Linked DNA regions of Homo sapiens: region 1 is linked to region 2. Evidence: promoter capture Hi-C in 16 types of primary human blood cells and fetal thymus (Javierre and others, 2016). All regions are on one chromosome and are shown on one strand. Each heading gives the region's core, a stretch centred on a gene start or on the middle of the fragment in contact. The rest is flanking DNA. Distances are from core to core; before and after follow the strand shown. Region 1 holds the start of CIDEC (cell death inducing DFFA like effector c). Region 2 holds the start of VHL (von Hippel-Lindau tumor suppressor).

Evidence for each region. Contacts are between HindIII fragments. The CHiCAGO score rates a contact against its expected background, and 5 or more counts as called.
Region 1: a contact is called between the fragment with the promoter of CIDEC here and the fragment with the promoter of VHL in region 2, in 6 of 17 cell types (naive CD8 T cells, activated CD4 T cells, total CD4 T cells and 3 more). The highest score is 8.5, in naive CD8 T cells.

What each region holds. Positions count from the first base shown.
Region 1 is chr3:9,877,831-9,884,187 of GRCh38, reverse strand. It overlaps CIDEC (cell death inducing DFFA like effector c), which reads left to right and starts at 3,935. Exons shown (of 7, transcript NM_001321142.2): 1 at 3,935-3,964; 2 at 5,134-5,246; 3 at 5,677-5,754. The coding sequence starts at 5,702. The HindIII fragment of the contact is 5,760 bases long and covers 3,778-6,357 here.
Region 2 is chr3:10,136,883-10,143,027 of GRCh38, reverse strand. It overlaps VHL (von Hippel-Lindau tumor suppressor), which reads right to left and starts at 1,250. Exons shown (of 3, transcript NM_000551.4): 1 at 841-1,250. The coding sequence starts at 1,180. It also overlaps the pseudogene LOC124906359. RefSeq lists an enhancer at 1-333. The HindIII fragment of the contact is 16,438 bases long and covers 1-6,145 here.

The sequences.
Region 1 (6,357 bases), core at 2,686-5,185, 260 kb after region 2:
GGACTGGCATATAGTAAGTGCTTAATAAATATTTCCTGAATGAATGAATGAATGGTTGCCTGAGAGCCCCTCCAGGGAAGGATTTAGATCTAAATAATAATAATTTCCATTTATTGAGCTCTAAGGATGCACTAGACTCTGTAGCAAGTACATTTCACGATTATCTCTTTTAATCTGCATGGAAACCAGATGCAGTAGAGCTATTTTTATCCCCAGTTGTTGGATCAAACTGAAGCTTAGAAAATTTAGCTCACACAGCTAGCGCTAGACCACTGGTTCTCAAAGTGGGCTCCCTGAGCAGCCATGGCTTCTGAATCATCTGGGAACCTTTAGTAACGCAAATTCCTAGGCACCACCCCAGACTTACTAAGTGAGAAATTCTGGGGTGGGGCCTAGCAATCTGAATTTTAACAAACCCGCCAGCTGATTCTGATGTACCAAAGTGTGAAAAACCCTGTGTTAAAAGAAAGATGAGGTTAAATGTTTTTTTAAAAAACACAGCTTTATTGAGATAGAATTCACATCACCCACTCAAGTGTACAAGTCAATGATTTTTAGTATATTTACAGGGTTGTGCAAACATCACTGAAATAATTTGTAATTAATAGGTAAAAAAAAAAAAAAAAAAAAAGGAAACCTGGCCGGGCGTGGTAGTTCATGCCTGTAATCCCAGCACTTTGGGAGGCAGAGGCGGGCAGATCACTTGAGGTCAGGAGTTCGAGACCAGCCTGGCCAACGTGGTGAAACCCCCGTCTCTACTAAAAAATACAAAAAATAGCCGGGTGTGGTGGCAGGCGCCTGTAATCCCAGCTACTTGGGAGGCTGAGGCAGGAGAATCACTTGAACCCGGGAGGCAGAGGTCACTAAAAATACAAAAATTAGCTAGGTGTGGTGGCACACGCCTGTGGGAGGTAGAGGTTGCTGTAAGCTGAGATCGCGCCATTGCACTCCAGCCTGGGTGGTGACATAGCGAGACTCTGTCTCAAAAAAAAAAAAAAAAAAAAAAAAAAAAAAAAAAAGAAGAAGGCCGGGCGCGGTGGCTCACGCCTGTAATCCCAGCACTTTGGGAGGCTGAGGCAGGCAGATCACGAGGTCAGGAGATCAAGACCATCCTGGCTAACACGGTGAAACCCCGTCTCTACTAAAAATACAAAAAAATTAGCCAGGCGTGGTGGCAGGCACCTGTAGTCCCAGCTACTGGGGAGGCTGAGGCAGGAAAATGGCGTGAACCCGGGAGGCGGAGCTTGCAGTGAGGCGAGATCGTGCCACTGCACTCCAGCCTGAGTGACAGAGCAATGCTCTGTCTCAAAAAAAAAAAAAAGAAAGAAAAGAAAAAGAAAAGGCTGGGTGCGGTGGCTCCTGCCTGTAATCCTAGAACTTTGGGATGCCCAGCCGGGTGGGTCATGAGGTCAGGAGATCGAGACCATCCTGGCTAACACGGTGAAACCCCGTCTCTACTAAAAATACAAAAAATTAGCCGGGCGTGGTGGCGGGCGCCTGTAGTCCCAGCTGCTCTAGAGGCTGAGGCAGGAGAATGGCGGGAACCTGGGGGGCGGAGCTTGCAGTGAGCGGAGATGGTGCCACTGCACTCCAGCCTGGGCGACAGAGCGAGACTCCGTTTCAAAAAGAAAAGAAAAAAAAAAAAAAGAAAAGAAAACCCTGAAAGAAACCCTGTACTAATTAGCAGCCACTCCCCATTCCCCTCCCATCCCCTACTCCCAGCCCGAAGCAACCACTAACCCATTTTGTCTTTTTTTTTTTTTTTTTTTTTTTGGAGGCGGAGTCTCGCTCTGTCGCCCAAGGCTGGAGTGTAGTGGTGCGATCTCGGCTCACTGCAAGCTCCGCCTCCCGGGTTCACGCCATTCTCCTGCCTCAGCCTCCCGAGTAGCTGGGACTACAGGCGCCCGCCACCACGCCCGGCTAATTTTTTGTATTTTTAGTAGAGACCGGGTTTCACCGTGTTAGCCAGGATGGTCTCGATCTTCTGACCTCGTGATCCGCCCACCTCAGCCTCCCAAAGTGCTGAGATTACAGGCGTGAGCCACCGCGCCCGGCCCTACTTTGTCTTTATATAGATTTGCCTATTCTAGACATTTCATATAAGTGGAATCATACAATATGTATATGATTCCTGTGACTGGCTTTGTCTACTTTCTGTACTGTTTGCAAGGTTCCTCCATGTGGTAGTATGGATCCTTTTTGATAAATAATATGCCATGTATGGATAGGCACATTTAAAAAATCGATTTATAAATTGAACATTCATGTGTTTCTACCTTTTGGCTATTACGAATAATCCTATGGATATTCACATACAAGTTTTTGTGTAGACATATTTTTCATTTCTTTTGGATATGTATGTGTATATATATATGTGTGTGTGTATATATATACACATATATATGTAATTTTGTTTGGTTTTGGTTTTGTTTCTTTTCTTTTGTAAAGACAGGGTCTCCCTATGTTACTCAGGCTAAATTTTAATTCCTGGGCTCAAGTGATCCTCCTGCATCAGCCTCCTTCTGAGCAGCTGGGACAACAGGTGTGCTCTGTATGACACACATACACCACACGCACACACACAGAAGTGGAACTGCTGGGTCAGAGATCTTACACTCTTAACCACTCCACATTTCAGCTTGTCTTACTCTCTGCTATGATTTAATATGTACATTATCAAATTGAGAAAAAGACAAAAAAATTAAAAATAATAAAATAAAAATAAAAAATTATCAGTAATACTAATAATCACTTCGATCCATTGAGTGTTTATGTTTGCAAAGCCTTTATTTTTATTTATTTTTATTTTTTTGAGACAGAGTCTCACTCTGTCACCCAGGCTGGAGTGCAGTGGCGTGATCTCGGCTCACTGCAACCTCTGCCTCCCGGGTTCAAATGATTCTCCTGCCTCAGCCTCCTGAGTAGCTGGGATTTCAGGCACCCACCACCACGCACGGCTAATTTTTGTATATTTAGTAGAGATGGGGTTTTCGCCATATTGACCAAGCTGGTCTCGAACTCTTGACCTTGTGATCTGCCCACCTCGGCCTCCCAAAGTTCTGGGATTAGAGGTGTGAGCCACCGTGCCCGGACTTTTTTTTTTTTTTTTTTTTTTTTGAGACAGGGTCTCACTCTGTCACCCAGAATGGAGTGCAGTGGTGTGATCTAAGCTCACCGCAACCTCTGCCTCCCAGGCTCAAGCGATTCTCCTGCCTCAGCCTCCCAGATAGCTGGGATTACAGGCACACACCACCACGCCTGGCTCATTTTTCTATTTTTAGTAGAGACGGGGCTTCACCATGTTGGCCATGCTGGTCTCAAACTCCTGACCTCAAGTGATCCACCTGCCTCGGCCTCCCAAAGTGCTGGGATTACAGGCGTGAGCCACGGCACCCAGGCTACTTTTTTCTTTTTTCTTTTCTTTTCTTTTTTTTTTTTTTTTTCAGAGACAGGGTCTCACTCTATTGCCCAGGCTGTCCTCCAACCCCTGTCCTCAAGCAATCCTCCCGCCTCAGCCTCCCAAAACACTGGGATTATAGGCATGAGCCACTGTGCCCCTTTACTTTTATTGTCACTAATCCTCACCACTACCCTATAAAACAAGAATCATTATCGTCATTACACAGAGAAGAGAAACGGGCTCACAGAAGTCAAGTGATCTGTCTAAGCTCAAGCAAGCTGATATGGGGTGGAGTTGGGACCACAACCCACATCTGCCTGCTTTCTGTGCCCTCTGTGCTTGATCTCATGTCATGGGCCATCCATTTTGCCAAAGCTTTCGAAACATGCCTTCTCCCCTCCTTTTAGGCCTTTTCTGGAAGTCAGGCTGGCTTGCAGCTCTCACCCCAAGCTCTTTTCCCCAGCTGGGGCTGAAGGCTGGGGAGGAGCTTCATGGGGGCTGGAAATAAATGAAGGGAGGGCTGGGCGGGACAGGGCAGTATTTCCAGGAGGCTGTGAGGGGGAGGTAAGGAGTTTGTTATTGTTTTGGGTTTGGGGATTTTTTTTTCTTTGCTCCTGGAGAGCAGGTTAGGTAGCTCTTGGCAGAGTTTTGCTAGGGATACGAAGTGGGTGAGGCTGAGGCAAGCAGAATCCTCCTGCCTCAGCCTCCCACGTAGCTAGGACTAGAGCTTCTGCAGTGCTAAGTGGGAAAGGGGCTTTCTGCCTCTGTGGGGCCTGGTCTGGAAAGTCCCCCAAATTGTTAAAAGCAAAGAGTGATTGTCCCCAGCTGGCAAGGGGACTTTTGTTTTATGTCCACCCCTTGTGCCCCTTGCTCTGCGAAGCCCTACCTGTGCCGGGAGCTTCGAATAGGAAGAGGACCTCAGGGCCAGGCATCCAGGGACTGAGGGGCTACAGCAGAAACAGACCCAGAGGCACCCTTGGCTAGGAAGAGCAGGATGAAGGTGTAATAATTTTGGGAGTGGTCTAAGAAGACTTTCCTTTTAAAGAGTGGAAAGCAATGAAACTGAGGCTTCAAGGCTGCAAAAATTTCGTCCTGGATCAGAGAAGGGCACTACAGGTGGAGGGAACTATCTGTGCAAAGGGTTGGGCCCTTCAAGAGTTGGAGCACAGAGGTTTAGGAGAAAAAGTGGTGACAGATGAGCCCAGGGCTATCTGCTTAGACCTGTGATCTAATATGGGTGCCAACAGCCACATGGCAATGTGGCTATTTAAATTTAAATTAGTTAAAATTCAATAAAGTAAAAAATACAGCTCCTGTGCCAGGTGCAGTGGCTCACGCCTGTAATCCCCGCACTTTGGGAGGCCAAGACAGGGAGATCACCTGAGGTCAGGAGTTCAAGACCAGCCTAGCCAACATGGTGAAACCCAGTCTCTACTAAAAATCCAAACAAAACGAAACTAAACTAAAAATTAGCTGGGCGTGGTGGCAGGTGCCTGTAATCCCAGCTACGGGGGAGGCTGAGGCAGGATAATTGCTTGAACCCAGGAGGCGGAGGTTGTAGTGAGCAAGATCGCCCCATTGCACTCCAGCCTGGGTGACAAGAGCGAAACTCAAAAAAAAAAAAAATTCAGCTCCTGAATCACACTAGTTATGTTTCAAATACTCAATAGCCACATGGGGCTAGTAGCAATGGTATTGGAGAGTATGTACAAGGCATGCCTCTATCATCACAGAATGTTCTTTTGGCCACTGTGAAGCCTCAGGAAGGGGCTCGGATTGCTCAAGGACCCATGGGAGAGAGGAGGCTTTGACTGGGCTGCCTGCCTGTGAGGTCTCTGGACTAGAGGTGAGGGAACGGTCCCCAGAAGTGTGAGGTGGTGTGACTCACCTCCTGCCAGCGTAAAGTGGACTCTGTCCCCATGGACAGGAACAAATCGGGCAAGGCTTCTTCAGCCCTGAGTTGGGTTATCTGCTCAGTGTGACCAGAGCCAGGGGATGAGAAACATGGAGTGAGTGGGACTGGGGCAGGAGCAGCAGCTGCTGAGTGAGGCTGAGCCTGAGCACCCGGTGGGGAGAGGGGTGGGGTCTCCAGCTTGGTCTTGGTTGGCATGCATGGGGCCGGACAGGAGAAGGGCTGGGGGAGGTATGTGTGAGTTGGGATAGAAGAATAGGGAGGAAGGTTGCTGAACAGGGGTTGGGTTGCACCTTGCCTAACAATGAGAGAGATGGGAACCCTCTCATCTCACCCTGATGAATTGTTTCTGCCTCCTTCCCAGGTCCAACGCAGTCCAGCTGACAAGGATGGAATACGCCATGAAGTCCCTTAGCCTTCTCTACCCCAAGTCCCTCTCCAGGTGAGGAAAGTCATGGGCAGAATGGAAAGAGAGCCACCTATGAGCTGTAAGCCAGAACTTCTCAAACTTTAATGGGTATACAGGTCACAGGGGACCTTGTTCAAGTGCAGATTCTGATTCAGGAGGTCTGGAGTGGGACCCGAGATTTTGCACTGCCAAGAAGTCCCTGGGTGATATTAATGCTGCTGCTTACACCACCACCACACCATGCATAAAAAGGAGTAGACACTATGCTTGGTGCTTTTACTCCTGATCTCATGTAAGCCTCACAACAACTTTGGGAAGTGGGGGTTATTATACCAAATTAATAGGTGAGAGAACTGAGGCACATAGTGGGTGCTCTCAATCACCCAGCAAATCCATGAGGGAGCCAAGATTCTAAATTGGGACTGCCTGACTGTAAAATCCAGGTCCTTTCCTTTCCTTTGGTTCTAAATTGAGTGCTTCAGTTAAAAAAATACCTTACATTGACTTCAGGCTTCCCCCACTTCATCCAACTTTACAGGTGAGGAGAGTGAGGCCAAGACAGGTGGTAAATGGGGAATGTGGGGTGGGTCTTTTATTACTTTGCTACTTACTCCTCATGGTCTGAGAACCAGCGTT
Region 2 (6,145 bases), core at 1-2,500:
TCTTACCTAGGGTTGGCTAGTTCCTACTCCATCCTGCTCTCTTCCTTCTCCGGGAAGTGCTCCTTAACTGAAACCACACAACCGCAACCCCTCCATCTCCCAGCAGGCAGGTAAGTCAATTTCCCACGCCACACACGGTCGGCTCTTCCGGCGCCAACATGACCCTGGCTTGTTCCTGTCTTTGCATCTGTCAGTCTCCCCAGGAGGAATGTGTTCTCCACGAGGGCAGGGACTACGCAGAACTGGCCCACTGGAGTCATGAGGACTGAACAGATGGGGTGTTAAGGATGCAGCTTTTCTTTGAGGGGAAAATACACGTGGGGTGGGGGACTGGGGGGAGCCACCTTCAAATGCAAACTATTCGGCCTTATAAAGAATGCTCTGGGCCGGGCGCGGAGGCTCATGCCCATAAGCCCAGCACTTTGGGAGGCCGAGGCGGGCGGATCACGAGGTCAGCAGTTCGAGACCAGCCTGACCAACATGGTGAAACCCCGTCTCTACTAAAAATATAAAAATCAGCCGGGCGCGGTGGCGCACGCCTGTAATCCCAGCTACTCAGGAGGCTGAGGCAGGAGAATCGCTTGAACCCGGGAGGCGGAGGCTGCAGTGAGTCGAGATCGCGCCACTGCACTCCAGCCTGGGCGACAGAGCGAGACTCCGTCTCAGAAAAAAAAAAAAAAAAAAAAGAATGCTCTGACGCTTACGAGCAGCGTCACCCTGGATGTGTCCTGCCTCAAGGGGCCTCAGTTCCCCGTCTGCAAAATGGACCCCGGGGCGGTAGAGGGGCTTCAGACCGTGCTATCGTCCCTGCTGGGTCGGGCCTAAGCGCCGGGCCCGTACCTCGGTAGCTGTGGATGCGGCGGCCCGTGCCAGGCGGCAGCGTTGGGTAGGGCTGCGGCTCGCCGTCGAAGTTGAGCCATACGGGCAGCACGACGCGCGGACTGCGATTGCAGAAGATGACCTGGGAGGGCTCGCGCGAGTTCACCGAGCGCAGCACGGGCCGCGGCCGCCCGGCCTCCATCTCCTCCTCGGCGCCCAGTTCCTCCGGGCCGGACTCTTCCGGGCCGGACTCCTCGGCGCCCGACTCCTCCCCGCCGTCTTCTTCAGGGCCGTACTCTTCGACGCCTGCCTCCTCCGCGCCTACCTCGGCCTCGTCCCAGTTCTCCGCCCTCCGGGGCATTCCCTCCGCGATCCAGACCACCCGGGCCGGACGCCGCGGGATCCGCGGGTCGGACGCGGGGCGGAGCTGCGTGCGCGCTCCCGAGTCGACCTCCGTAGTCTTCGCGCGCGCTCGGTAGAGGATGGAACGCGCTCGCGGAAATAGCCGGCCGGAGGCTGTGCGCGTGCGCAGAAGGATCCTCCAGCACCGTAGGCCGTTGTAACGGAGGCGAGGCTAGGCCAACTCGTTACTGTATTTCCACTATAAAATTTTTTTTCGCCCCTCTAAGGTTTGGTGTTTTTTTTTTTTTTGAGACAGGGTCTCACTCTGTCGCCCGGGCTGGAGTGCAGTGGCGCGAGCTTGGCTCACTGCAGCCTTGACCTCCCTGGCTCAAGCGATCGTCTCGCCTCAGCCTCCCGAGTAGTTGGTACTGTAGGCGCGCACCACCATGCCCGACTAATTATTTTTATTTGTTGTTTGAAACGGAGTCTCGCTATGTTGCCTAGGCTGGTCTCGAACTCCTGGGTTCAAGTGATCCTCCTGCCTTGGCCTCTCAAAGTGCAGGGATTACAGGCCTTAGCCACTGTGCCTGGTGGACTAACTGAATTTTTTTTTTCTTCATGTCAGACGCGCAATGTGCCGACGTCGTAACAAGGTTCGAGGGTGGCGCATCTCACACGGGAACACCCAATCATCACGCTTATAAAGTACAAAAAGTCAACTAACTGAATTCTTACAAGGCATGGGTGATTAGTAAAGAGGGAAAAATAATTAGACCTACTATGTGCAGAGCACTCTGGTGGAAATTGGAAAATCAGATATTTACTTCAGAGCAATTAAAACTACAAACATAAACACTCATTAACTTTGTTCATTTTACAAATATTTATTAAGGCCCTACTATGTACCACCTATGGTGATAAGTGTTGAAAATATTGTAAAAACCGGTCATGTTTCCTGCCTTCACTGCACTTCAATAAAAGCGTCATACGGTAATCAATCACACAAATAAAATAGCAACTATGGCCGGGTGCAGTGGCTCATGCCTGTAATCCCAGTACTTTGGGAGGCTGAAGTGGGCTGATCACAAGGTCAGGAGTTCTAGACCAGCCTGACAACATGGTGAAACCTCGTCTCTACTAAAAATACAAAAATTAGCCTGGCGTGGTGGTGCGCGCATGTAATCCCAGCTACTTAGGAGGCTGAGGCAGGAGAATTGCTTGAACCCGGGAGGCGGAGGTTGCAGTGAGCTGAGATTGTGCTACTGCACTGCAGCCTGGGTGACAGAATGAGACTCTGTCTCAAAAAAAAAAAAAAAAAAAGTGCAACTGTGACTAGTACGACAAAAAGAGACAGGGTACTATAGAAGGCTAAAGATCTGGGGGTCAAGGAAGATGGTACACAATTCTGTGTAATTAAATGTTCAATGATGTGGGATGGACTCAAGTGGAGAAGCAGCTCAGAAAAAGAAGGGTTCAGAGAGTTTTATATTAGTTAAAAATAATTTTTTTTTAGACAGTCTCGCTTTATCACCCAGGCTGGAGTGCAGTGGCTCAGTCTCAGCTCACTGCAACCTCCATCTGCCGAGTTCAAGTGATTATCGTGCCTCAGCCTCTGGAGTAGCTGGGATTACAGGTGTGTGCCACCACACCCAGGTAATTTTTGTACTTTTAGTAGAGACGGGGTTTCACCATGTTTGCCAGGCTGGTCTTGAACTCCTCACCTCAGGTAATCTGCCTGCCTTGGTTTTCCCAAGTGCTGGGATTACAGGTGTGAGCCACCGTGCCCAGCTCAAAAATAAATTTCAAGTAGAAAGAAAAAAATCTATCAAGTGCCAGACACTGTGCTAAGCATCCCACGTGAATTAAGGCTATGTCATTATCTCCATTTCACAGCTAAGGAAACAGAAGGGTATATAAGAATGTGAAGGCCTAGCACTATACGCCTGTAATCCCGAGATTTTGGGAGCCCAAGGCAGGTGGATCACTTGAGTTCAGGAGTTGGAACCAGCCTGGGCAACATAGCGAGGTCCTGTCTCTATAAAAAATGAAAGAATTAGCCAGGCATAGTGGCGTGCACCTGTAGTCCCAGCTACTCAGGAGGCTGAAGCAGGAGGATCACTTGAGCCTGGGAGGTTGAGGCTGCAGTAAGCCGTGATCATGCCACTGCACTCCAGCCTGGGCAACAGAGCCAGACTCTGTCTCAGAAAAAAAAAAAAATGTGAAAAGGGTAGTCAAAATGCTGGATCAGAGAGGCTCATCACCTGATGCCTTAGGAGAAAATGACAGTATGAGTGAACCTCAGGAGTTGGATATCTCCACAAAAGCACTGACACCATGAACCTAAGTAATTTTGCCTAGGGCTCTCCTTGACAGCTCACTGCACAGAGATGGTGTATCCTGGTGGCCTCCAGCAGGATTAAGTGACCAGCAGTGATGCTGGACCCCCAGCTACATTAACAACATGAAAACACTGTAGAGAAAAATCCCAAAGTAGGCCAGACGCAGTGGCTCATGCCTGTAATCCCAGCACTTTGGGAGGCCAAGGTGAGCAGATCACTTGAGGTCAGGAGTTTGTGACCAGCCTGGCCGACATGGTGAAATCCCATCTCTACTAAAAATACAAAAAATTAGCCAGCATGGTGGCCTGCGCCTGTAATCCCAGCTACTCGGGATGCTGAGGCAGGAGAATCACTTAAACCCCAGAGGCAGAGGTTGCAGTGAGCCCAGATAGCACCACTGCACTCCAGCCTGGGCAACAGAGTGAGACTCCACTCAAAAAATAAATAAATAATAAAAATAAGATAAACCCCAAAGTAGGACTTCTGTTAATCAAATTACAATGGCTTAGAGCCATCATAATTCACAAGATTCATGCAAACATCCCCTCAGTTGTACTCCCATGCTAGCGAGGTGAAATATAACAGTTTAATATTACAGAAATGCCTACATCCCTAAAATGAAACCAGTTGTTTAGATAAATGCAGGCTTTGAGACTGCAAATAATGTTTCAAAGATCATTTAAGAGGAAGGGGTGGCCAAGCACGGTGGCTTGTGCCTGTAATCCCGGCACTTTGGGAGGCCGAGGTGGGCGGATAACTTGAGCTGAGGAGCTCGACACTAGGCTGGGCGACATGATGAAATCCTGTCTCTACAAAAAATACAAAAAATTAGCCGGGCGTGGGTGCACCTGTAGTCCCAGCTGCTCAGGAGGCTGAGGCTGGAGGATCACCTGAGCTCAGGAAGGTCAAGGCTGCAGTGAACTGTGATCGCGACACTGCACTTTAGCCTGGGTAACAGAGCGAGACTCTGTCTCAAAAAAGAAAAAAGAAAAGAAAAAGTTGCAAAGGAAACAAGTTTAGAATACACAGGCAAAATTTTTCTTACAGTACACTTTTCATTAGGCAAAAAGACATGTAGAAAAGAATAAAAAATACAATGTCTAAAGACAACCGGTGGGCCGGGCGCAGTGGCTCACGCCTGTAATCCCAGCACTTTGTGAGGCCAAAGCAAGTGGATCACGAGGTCAAGAGATCAAGACCATCCTGGCTAACCCAGTGAAACCCTGTCTCCACTAAAAATACAAAAACAAAATTAGCCGGGCATGGTGGTGGGCGCCTGTAGTCCCAGCTACTCGGGAGGCTGAGGCGGGAGAATGGCATGAACCCGAGAGGCAGAGCTTGCAGTAAGCGGAGATGGCGCCACCGGACTCCAGCCTGGGCGACAGAGCGAGACTCCGTTTCAATAAATAAATAAAGACAACTGGTGACTTGTTCTATCTCCTTTTCTGTCTTTTCCAAATTTTCTCTAAGGGGGATATATTTTGCCTTGTTTGTATGTCGACCAATTAAAATATACAAGTACAATAATAAAGCAAATACTGATAATGTCACATGTAATTAGCATGTTGCCATATTTACTTCGTTTCCAGTTTTTGCAATGAGCTGAGATCGTGCCACTGCACTCCAGCCTGGGCGACAAAGCGAGACTCTGTCTCAAGAAAAAAAAAAAAACCAGAGTATCTTGTCACCCCCAAAACTCCTTCATGGTCAAACCCTGCTTCCACTGTTAATCCCTGGCAAGCACTGGTCTGTCTGTCTTGTGTCCCTATAGTTTTGCCTTTCCAGAATGTCACACAACAAAATCGTATCATATGTAGCCTTATGAGTTTGGCTTTTTTTCACTTAGCATAATGCATTTGAGATTCATCCAAGTTGTAGTATATAATAACTTACTCATTTTTATTGCCAAGGGTATTCCATACTATCTACTTACCAACTGCAAGATATTGGTTTGTTTCCAGTTTTTAGCAATTATAAAGTTGCTATATACATTAGTGTACAGGTTTCTTGCAAACATAAGTTTTGTTTCTCTTGGGTGAGAATCACCTAGGAGATTGCTAGGTCAAACACAAAGTACATGTTTAACTTCATGAGAAATTGCTAACCTGTTTCCCCAGAGCAGTTGTATCATTTTGCATTCTCACCAGCAATGTATGACTGTTCCAGTTGCTCCACATTCTTGTCTACAGTTGGTATTATCAGATTTGAGGTTTTGTTCTTTTTTTTTTTTTTGAGACAGTCTCGCTCTGCCGCCCAGGCTGGAGTACAGTGGCACAATCTCGGCTCACTGCAACCTCCACCTCCGGGGTTCATGTCATTCTCCTGCCTCAGCCTCCCAAGTAGCTGGGGCTACAGGCGCCCGCCACCACGCCCAGCTAACTTTTCGTATCTTTAGTAGAGACGGGGTTTCACCGTGTTAGCCAGGATGGTCTCGATCTCCTGACCTTGTGATCCGCCCACCTCGGCCTCCCAAAGTGCTGGGATTACAAGCGTGAGCCACCGCGCCTGGCCTGGGGTTTTGTTCTTTAAAAATAAAAAAATTTTAGCCATTCTAATTGATGTATAGTGGTATCTTATTGACGTTTAATTTGTACTTCTGAGAGGTGACAATGTGCTGGCAGCCCTCGCGGCCCTCGCTCACTCTC